Linked DNA regions of Homo sapiens: region 1 is linked to region 2. Evidence: promoter capture Hi-C in 16 types of primary human blood cells and fetal thymus (Javierre and others, 2016). All regions are on one chromosome and are shown on one strand. Each heading gives the region's core, a stretch centred on a gene start or on the middle of the fragment in contact. The rest is flanking DNA. Distances are from core to core; before and after follow the strand shown. Region 1 overlaps STRAP (serine/threonine kinase receptor associated protein). Region 2 holds the start of H2AJ (H2A.J histone).

What was found. The method cuts DNA at HindIII sites, captures the fragments that hold promoters and counts their contacts. A CHiCAGO score of 5 or more calls a contact.
Region 1: a contact is called between a fragment that was not itself captured here and the fragment with the promoter of H2AJ in region 2, in 10 of 17 cell types (total CD4 T cells, total CD8 T cells, naive CD4 T cells and 7 more). The highest score is 11.9, in total CD4 T cells.

Annotation. Positions count from the first base shown.
Region 1 is chr12:15,887,255-15,891,993 of GRCh38, reverse strand. It overlaps STRAP (serine/threonine kinase receptor associated protein), which reads right to left. Exons shown (of 10, transcript NM_007178.4): 3 at 1,985-2,066; 4 at 1,325-1,397. Among named protein-coding and RNA genes, the nearest start is that of STRAP, 7.2 kb to the right of the region's middle. The HindIII fragment of the contact is 606 bases long and covers 2,860-3,465 here.
Region 2 is chr12:14,772,196-14,777,621 of GRCh38, reverse strand. It overlaps H2AJ (H2A.J histone), which reads right to left and starts at 3,217. Exons shown (of 1, transcript NM_177925.5): 1 at 2,598-3,217. The coding sequence starts at 3,151. The coding sequence ends at 2,762. RefSeq lists enhancers at 2,107-2,256, 1,963-2,879, 2,767-2,926, 2,937-3,266, 3,457-3,666 and 1 more. The HindIII fragment of the contact is 5,193 bases long and covers 1-4,828 here.

The DNA.
Region 1 (4,739 bases), core at 1,913-4,412, 1.1 Mb before region 2:
ACTTTGGTAGTATCTATCAATGGCTTCCAACAATTCATTTTTTTTTTTTCTTTTTGAGAAGGAGTTTTGCTCTTGTCCCCCAGGCTGGTATGCAATCTCGGCTCACTGCAACCTCTACCTCCCGGGTTCAAGCGATTCTCCTGCCTCACCCTCCTGAGTACCTGGGAATTACAGGCGCCTGCCACCATGCCCAGCTAATTTTTTTGTACTTTTAGTAGAGATGGGGTTTCACCATGTTGGCCAGGCTGGTATTGAACTCCTGACCTCAGGTGATCCACTCACCTTGGCCTCCCAAAGCACTGGGATTACAGGCGTGAGCCACTGCGCCCGGCCACCTTCCAACAATTCCACTCCTCTTTGTCCCACCAATTCTACTTTTGCTTAGTTATCTTAAGGAAATCATTGTGAAAATATTTGCAACTGTAAGGATGTTTAGCATAATACTGCTTTTCATATTTAAAATCTGTAAGTAGCCCAAACGGGCCAAAACAGGAAACTAGTTAATTCACTTATGATATAACCACAGGATGGAAAACCAGAAAGTCATTACAAACAGTTCATAGACTATTTAGTGAAATGAAAAAACTGTAACTGCAGATTTTTTAAAATTCTTTCGAATAGCTAATATATTTACATGGTTCAAAAATCTAAGCAATATGTGCACACAACTGAGAATTCTCACCATCACCAACTTCTATAAATAACCAATCTTTCTTACCAAAAAATAGTAACACTGTTCTGCACTGTTTTAAAACTTAATGATAAAAATTTGCCATAATAAATTTTCAGTTTGGAAGAAGGTTATACAATAGCAACATAGCAAATAAACTTATTTTTTAAAAACTGTGCAGAAAAAAAGACTGAAAGTTTATAAACCAAAAACTGATGAATTACGTTTTAATTTTCTTCTTTGTTGACTATTTTTTTTTTTTTGAAACTGAGTTTCACTCTTATTGCCCAGGCTGGAGTGCAGTGGCGCAATCTCGGCTCACTGCAACCTCCACCTCCCGGGTTCAAGCGATTCTCCTGCCTCAGCCTCCCAAGTAGCTGGGATTACAAGCGCCTGCCACCATGCCTGGCTAATTTTTCTATTTTTAATAGAGACGGGGTTTTGCCATGTTGGCCAGGCTGGTCTCGAACTCCTGACCTCAAGTGATCCACCCGCCTCAGTCTCCCAAAGTGCTAGGATTACAGGTATGAGCCACCGTGCCCGGCCATGACTATCTTTATTTTCCAAATTTGAGTACTGAGCATGAAATTCTTTAATCAGTTATTTAAATTAAAAGAAAATAAAACTAGAAGCTGATGTTTAAATTATGCTTACCTGCTTCAGGTTTGTTCAAGTCATATATGCGTAACAGTTTATCCTGTCCCCCGGTTAACAAATAATTACTATCCTGAAAACACAAAGTAAAATGTGAATAGATTAACCATTTTAATAGTTATTTCTCTTTCAAATTTCAACACCAAATAAAATCAAAATCTAGCTCACAGACATCACAAAGAGATGCCAAGACATAACCAATTACTTCTGAGAAGATACTGTGGAACAGCTGACCTCTCATAACTGCCAAGACTTGTAAGCTTTCCACTTCAAAAGCGTTACACTACACTACATATACATGAACTCTCCCATTCTCCCCTGATCCTACTCCTCTCCCTTGTGAGAGGCCCTTTTCTGATTATCTCAAATTTATCTTCTCCCTTCTATTAGTAGTTGGGGAAGGCTACTTGAGCTTTTCAGATGTTTTTTACATGTTGAAGGACTGGTACTCGTTCCACAGTATCTTAAAAGCTTGACAGGATTAACTATGAAACAAATTCATAGAGCTTAATACACAATCAAATCAAATATGAACCAAGAAATAACAAATATTCCACACAAAACATATCAATCAAATATACACACCAATCAAGTATAAAAGCATTATCACACTATGTACCAGCAACTTAACTCGCTAAAATAAATTCCATTTTCTGATACCTGCGTGAAATCCACAGTCTTGACAATGTGTTTATGAGCCAGGGTCATCAATTCATCTCCTGAGACAGCATCCCACACTTTGCTAAAAGTAAAAAAGAGAAAATTAGTAGGATAAATATTACCCAATATATTAAAAGGATAAATACAATTATAATATTGATGAGTACCAAATAAGTTAGATATGTGAAATGTTACATAAATGTATTATAAATCTCCTTTATCTCTAATATCCCTCACAGACTTCATTTGATAAAATATTTAAATAAGCTTAAGGGAAAAGAAATTTCTCTGTAAAAACTTTATAACCAATCTAATTTTCTTTGACAGTGGAAAAGATATGAACAATTTAAGCAAGTAAGATTCATGAACCAACCCATCCTCCTTACTTTTATTTTAGCTGACAGCCATAATATCCCTTTAGCAAGCCTGTCATACATTTTAACCAATTTTTAGTTTCACCATGCCAATTTTTTCTCTATTCTCCACTCAGATGCACAATAAAAAATAAAAATAAATAAAAAAACCAGAAATCCTTAAAAATGTTACAAGGGAATGAAAAGCCTTGGTACAGGCTAAGTAAAATTTTAAATTAAGATAGTGGAGAGACAATGTCCACTTCATCTCTTCTTCAAAGCTGACTTAAAATTTCAAACTCTAGTACAGTTAACTTCCCCCAAACTATCAGCCTTTGATTATATAATGCTAACACTGACTATTTTAATCTTTACATTGTTTTTTCTGTCCCACCCCACCCCAAAATACAAGTTGGTTATAGGTATACATACATTTATATGTGTATGTATATTCTGGGCGGGTAATAGTTGAGCAATACTTTACAAAATTACTCTAAAAGGGTTCCCCCAAATAAAAAAGCTTAAGGAAGGGGGAAAAAAAAGTTGATTTTAGATCAGAACAGGTCAGTGAAAAATAAACAAGAAAACTTTGCAGACAGGGAAAAGAATTGCTAAGAGTGAAAAAGCTATGTTCCATAGAGATTTCCATTTTAATGCAACTGCTATTTATTTTCAGGAACACAGTGGGCAATAAAATGGTAGAGGGAAAAAAATCAGAGAAAAGCAAGATGTATCTTTTCTTTTGCTTACCCCAATACATAATAAAATATATTAAATATATATCATTCTATACTTAGTGCTAAGGCACAAATGGGAGACAAAAAATACCCCACAGTAGGTTCTTGCCATAGTAGAGCTTTAGCTGAGGAGAAAAACATGCATTAAATATCACATTTAAGAAATATAATTAAAAGACATATATATGGCTATAAAAACTCAGAAAAAAGCACCTAGATATTGTCCAGAAAATGTAAGTAACAGAGCTAGCCGTCGGAAGAAGCAAAGAGAAATATATCAGGGGAAAAAGAAGGGAAGGCTATTCTAGATAAGCATTAATAGCATGTGCAATGTGGTTAATGAATATGAAAGACCATCTAACAGGAATGCTCATGATACACTACCAAAGCTTGCAATATTTAATAATGTGGGTCATGTGAGTGGCTGAATAAATATGTTCTGAAAGAAATAATGTCAACTATAAGTAGCCTTGCTGCTAAACTCCCTAGTATTCATTTCTCTTTGCCCAGGAAACTTGCTCCTCTCTCTGTCATTCCAATGCAACTCTCTGGCCCCAATCTACTTTCCCAACCTCATTTTGTATTGTTTCTCTGAATCTAGCAACACTAGATTATAAACCACTCCTCAAATAACTTACGTATTTTCTTCCAGGCTCCTATGTTCTTGTTTATATTATTCTCTTAAGTCTGTATTTTACATTCTTAGCTATTAAAGTTCTACTCACCCTTAGGGCTCATTTCAAATGCTATCTTTTCTTTGAAACTATTTATCCTCAACTCCAATAATTAACCATTCCTTTCTGTTCTCCCACAGAACTCCACTTATTACGGTGCTTAAATTTGCTTTGTTTTTTGTTTACATATATCCTTAATCACAGTGAAATGCATTTCATGGTTGTGGTAAGGGTTCACAAGTATTAGAATGACAGAAAGCATCAAAAGTGAAGAAAACAACAAATGTATCTAAAATTACTATTCTAATTATTCACAAGTCTCCAAAGAAACCCGGGCAATGTCCTTTGATATGCTAATTTCAAGTTTATTAAATAATCTCCCATAAACTTAAAACCTCTCTCTCTTTTTTTTTTTGAGACAGGATCTTGGTATATTGCCCAAGCTATACTTGAACTCCTGGCCTCAAGATCCTTCCACCTCAGCCTCCTAAGTAGCTACAGGCTAACGCCAACATGGCAGCTCTAAAATCTTAAGATTCTGCTTAGACTGTGTCTATTCAAAGGTGAGAAGAGAGTTGGAGTGACCAAAGTAGTAATATTAACCAGAGAGGTAATGTGTCTGTAGTTTTTCCTCCTATTTAGAAACAGTACTAAAATAGAGGCATGACATTTTCTGACAGGGCATGTACTAACTCTGGCAGATTTCCATTATTCACAGTAAGAGCCCTAAAATGGATCTAATCTAAATGTTTCCTAATGTATTATTCAATCTCCAGGCAAGAAATTGACATATATTAGTTGGCCACAGGGCTCAAATCAAGACAGTAAAGCGCTATTAACAATACCCTTTCAGCAGCTAACCCTCCAACATTTTCTTCACATCCCACGAAGTACTTGTCATCTCCTTAAACTACTGTTACCTCTTATACCCCAGTTTCTTGCAAATAATAATGCTGCCTGATACTTTCCATATCCTCAGAATGAACTTACC
Region 2 (5,426 bases), core at 1,968-4,467:
TAAGTCTCATTGCAGAGAGCTAAAGTTCTTACACAGCATGGTATGCGACCTTTCAACCACTGGAAGGGGCATTGTGAAGTTTGCATATAGTATGCCAGTCATCACCAATTATGGGGCCTGACTAAGCCTTTTGATTCCAGGCAGGCACAACTAAACAGACCAGTCCTCGGGGACACAAAGACAAGACTGGCCCTGCAGGAAAAACAAAGATCAAACAAATCCTGGCCAAGCCACAGCCACACTGAACGGCTTGCTTATCTCTGCAGGAAAGAGTGTGTGTGTGTGTGTTTGTGTGTAAATAAAACTATGGATTATAACTCTATTAAAAACTGGAATTCAGTTCCCATCAGATTTTGTCTTAGGCCTTTTTCCATATGGTCTTATGCTTAAAGAAATACTGGCCTTTTAAATTCATAATCACACATCAGCAAGAACTACTGTTTGTTCATCATGGATCATGGGCTGAGCTGATTTTGTAGGAGTATGCATTTTAAACAGCCCGTAAACTATTCGGGTTAAAAAAAAAACTCTCAAAAACAAAAATGGTGAGGGGCTGACTGAACGTTGAGGCAGGCAGAGTATGTGAGGGGATGCTAAGAATCCTTTGGGTAGTGGTGGGAGAGGCGGGTGGCGACAGGGCAGTTACAATGCCTCGTATCTTGTCTATGTTGCTCATCATGTAACAAGAGCTGGACAGATTCCTGTGAATCTTCCCAGGGGAAGGCAAAGGTGCTTTTTCTTATGAATGTCTTGATGTCCCTTGTCCTTATTTCTTCATCATTTTGGTAACAATCCCTCAGATGCCTCATCCCTTTAAGAAATTTAGACTCAAATGTCAAAACCATATATGCATTTTGTTCCACTGACCCCAAGTGGTAACTGTGAGTAGTAGTTCTAACAATGAGGCATTTTTTAAAAAGTCCTATTAATGTTTACCTATAATTTAACCTATAAGGATAAACCCATACCCCCATTGAACATGGTACTTTTTTCCATTTATTGTCTAATATGTGGCACACAGTAAATGAACAATCTCAATCCTTAAAACAGGTGTTATGACTTTTACATATGACAAAACCACAGAGTAAATAGCAGAACATCTCGAACCTGCCCAATAATTTGCCTCCTAACAGAGGTGTGTACGGCCTGACCTTTGTACACCTCAAAAATGGCAACATGGGAGAAGTAATTCCATCATTCATCCACACACAGCAGAGAGGTACAAGTACTAACAGAAGCTGATCTCTCATATTAACGTATGTATTTGTTCCTTGTCCCGTCTTCAGGAACCAATAAAAATAAAGTGAGCTCCGAGAGAGTGGAAATCTGGTTGGCCTCATTCACAGCTCTACTCCTATCACTTTGTACAGAGCCTGGCATAGACAGCTGTTCAATAAATACTGGGGACAAAATAAAGTCCATGTGGGAAAATGGGCCAGCCGCTACCAAGGATGAAGACATACAATATATACATATATTTTTGGGGAAGACTTCAATTCCGACTCACAGGAAAGATGAATCCAAAGATGTGAAATCTGTACTGGGATCTTTTTTGTGGGGTCTGTGAGCCAGGATGAAATTTGCTGAGGATGAAATAAATAGGAGTGTCAATTAAGGGCAGAAGATGATTACTAGTGTTAACTTTTCAATGTGGATTCCTGGTCTGAAATGTGTTTCCCCCTGCACTTACATATTTGGTCCTATCTTTCCTTACATGTTTATTAAAGCAATATTGTGCCATTAGGCAATGCAACTCCCAAAGACATTACTGGAATGAGGTCATTGCTTCAGGCTAGTGGGAGAATATAAGAGAGTTCAAACAGGTTATTTGTTGGGTAAGAACCCCTAAAAGCAAGAGGTTTTTGTTTTGTTTGAAAGCAAAGTCAAACCGATTCTCAAAGTGAATATGATATGATGAAGACAGGATCATTATGAAGCTAGAAACTTGACAACATCACTTTAAAAGCTCAAGCATATGTAACCCACGACTAAAGGCGCTGCAATGTTATGCAATATGACTGTCAGGGGAACGAATTTCCAACCTCATGACTCACTTATTGAACGTTTCCTTCATTAAAAAAAAAATATGAACATAAAAGTGCTATATAAAGATATCTGATATCCAAAGCATGAAAGCACAGCAGCTACTAGGCTAGGAAGAATCTCAAGTTGACATCGTGCCATCAGAGCCACCCTTCCAAGACGGAAAGTTACTCCACTTTTTGAAAAATATGGCCGCAGACACTTCCTGCCCCGAGCTCAGCTCGATCCGACGGTATCTTCCCAGAACTTGGTCCTGAGTGCTCACAAACTGGCAGGAGAGCGAAGGCTCTGTGAAAGGGAAGTAAAAATAATTCCGAAGGAGGCCTCACCGCACCGACTCTGCCTCCCCTTTGCCCTACTGACAGCGAGGTGGCTTCCACCCTGCCCACCTCCAGGCCACCCTCCCCTGACGCCTCGAGGGTGACCTGCGGACTAAAGCCGTCCAGAGTGGCTCAAGCCCACCCACCAGTGCCTGCTCCAGGGGTTTCCCGGTCGCCCCCCTCCCCTGGGGCCATCCGACATGTCCCCGCGACTACACAGCTCTCTCGACCAAACGATTTTCACCAACTTTATTGGCTCCCGCCGGGACCCTCGCCGCCCACCTCCCCGCTAGATGTCACCGGCCCTCCATGACATCCAGCACATTCAAAAGCATTGCGGGACGACCATGAAAAGGGCCTTTGCTGGGGGAGCCAGCTCCCTGAGGGCGGCGTCAGGGTCATTTGCTCTTCGTCTTCTGACTCTCCGTCTTCTTGGGCAGCAGCACGGCCTGGATGTTGGGCAGGACGCCGCCCTGAGCGATGGTCACTTTGCCCAGCAGCTTGTTTAACTCCTCGTCGTTGCGGATGGCGAGCTGCAGGTGGCGGGGAATTATCCTGGTCTTCTTGTTGTCACGCGCGGCGTTGCCAGCCAGCTCCAGGATCTCCGCCGTAAGGTACTCCAACACCGCCGCCAGGTACACCGGCGCCCCGGCGCCCACTCGCTCCGCGTAGTTCCCTTTGCGCAGCAGTCTGTGCACTCGGCCCACCGGGAACTGCAGGCCCGCGCGGGAGGAGCGGGATTTGGCCTTTGCTCGCACTTTGCCGCCCTGTTTCCCGCGACCGGACATGATCACCTCTCGCCTACAACTCCAGAGACGGAGACAAACCGCTCTCGGCGTCCGGTACCGGAATGCAACGTACCGCACCCGAACTGCCTCTACAAACTCTTTACGGCCGCGCGGCAGCCCCTTTCCATTGGCTCTGGTGACCAATGACAGGCAGGCTCCGCTCCCAACTAGCGCTCTGGAAGAGAGACCGCCTCCTCCAGCTCTCTCCAATCAATAGAGCAATCTCCGAATCCTCATTTACATAGCCGCTCACATAAATAACGAGGCCAGCCGGCTCAGTCTTTGGGGACCCAGATGAATTTAGCGGTTACGGGTTTTCCACGACCACGCTCGCTTCCAAGCACATAAACTCGTAGGAAATAAGAAAACATGGTTGGAAACAGAAAACAATCCAGAAGAAGAGCTACAGGGGTTGTCCGTAGACGTTGCTATGCTAAGTGGATGTTCTCATATAATACACCGTACTACTCAGGTAGGTTTCTGTCTCCGCAGCCCGTGCTGCTTAGGCGAAACAACAGCCTGTCCGCGGAATTCTGCCTGCCCAGGACAGGGTCCGTGGACTGTTTCTTATACAAGCGCCTTGCCTCCAGCTAGCTACCCAACAGTGTAGAGACCACCCTGGTCTCCCCGCAGGGTCCTGCGGCTCACAGCCAGCCAATCGTTCACTTTTGAGTCTGAAGCTAGAGTGATGACCAGACGTGAATGCTTCCTGTGCTGACGGGAGGAACAAGCTCGCCTAGCCAAAATATCTTTTGTCTTTGAGGCTATGGGCCTGCAAAGAGCCACTAGGTTTTATTGGAGAGGCCAAAGTCTTGGCCTTGGCTTGCTCCCCGCAAGCCAGGGCGCCACAGATCAGCGGATCGGGTCCTCTGCGAAGACGTGGAGGTCCCCCGGGTCTCTTTGTAAATGAGTCCAGAGACTAAAGTCAGAATGGCAGCTTATTCTTATATACCTGAATTGTGGACCCATGCTTTTTGAAACAAAAAGAGTGTTTCAAGTGTTTTGTTTTAATTAAAAATTACTTTCTCCTAATTCATCGAGGTCATTTCATTTTTACCTGAACATTTTCAGTAACACAGTTAACACCGATACGTGATGTAATGTTGAACGCTTGCTTTTTAAAATAAACATTTTATGTGGATTCATTTACATTTAAAGTAAAGCAAATTTACCTTCTCACTATCCGAATAAAGATTTGACTTCATTGAAATAACATTTTCAAATATTTATGTATATGTCATTACTGCCTAGAACAATGATGAACCCATACTGGGGACTCAATAAATGTCTTCAGAGCTATTGTCATGGTTTAGGCGGTCTTTCCGGAGCCAGTCTGCCTCAGCCTAAATCCTGGCTTTACCACTGAGCAGTGACCTTTGATAAGTTATTTGACTCCTCTACCTGTATCAAAGTGTTTTGAAAATTAAATACGTTAGTAAGCATCCAATAACTCTTAGATATACCAAATAAATGGGCATACAAATCTCTGATGCAGTTTTTAACGAGATGTTCCTGGAATGAGTTCTGTAAACTAGCTTAAATTTTTGCCTGTATCTTGGGGAATTTTCAAGAGTTTTTAAAAGTATTACTATTTTAGACACGATTTTTTTTCTTTTATTCCAATAAGCAAGAGATTTCTAATTTGAAAATGTTCTAGTCTTGATTTCTTAGAAAGCTTAACTATAAGTAAGTCAACCGATTTTACCATTACAATAATTTTTTTTTTTTTTTTTTGAGACGGAGTCTCGCTCTGTCGCCCAGGCTGGAGTGCAGTGGCGCGATCTCGGCTCACTGCAAGCTCCGTCTCCCGGGTTCACGCCATTCTCCTGCCTCAGCCTCCCGAGTAGCTGGGACTACAGGCGCCCGCCACCACGCCCGGCTAATTTTTATGTATTTTTAGTAGAGATGGGGTTTCACCATGTTAGTCAGGATGGTCTCGATCTCCTGACCTCGTAATCCGCCCTCCTCGGCCTCCCAGAGCGCTGGGATTACAGGCGTGAGCCACCGCGCCCGGCCCCATTACAATAATTCTTATCTCTTCAAGATCTGATAGACTTTTCCTCTTCCCTCTGAGTCAAATATTAAAATCATGAGTGAAGTTCGACCATTCAGGACTTTTTCCAGCCATTCAAGACAGTGTTCCAACTCTTTTATCTTTAACAAAAAGTAAAAGAAAAATAAATACCTTTTGGGTTATGAAGATGGGCATGGATTGAAACAAATGTAAACTATAGGCATTTATAAATATAACAAAATTTTACCATAAAGTCTTCCT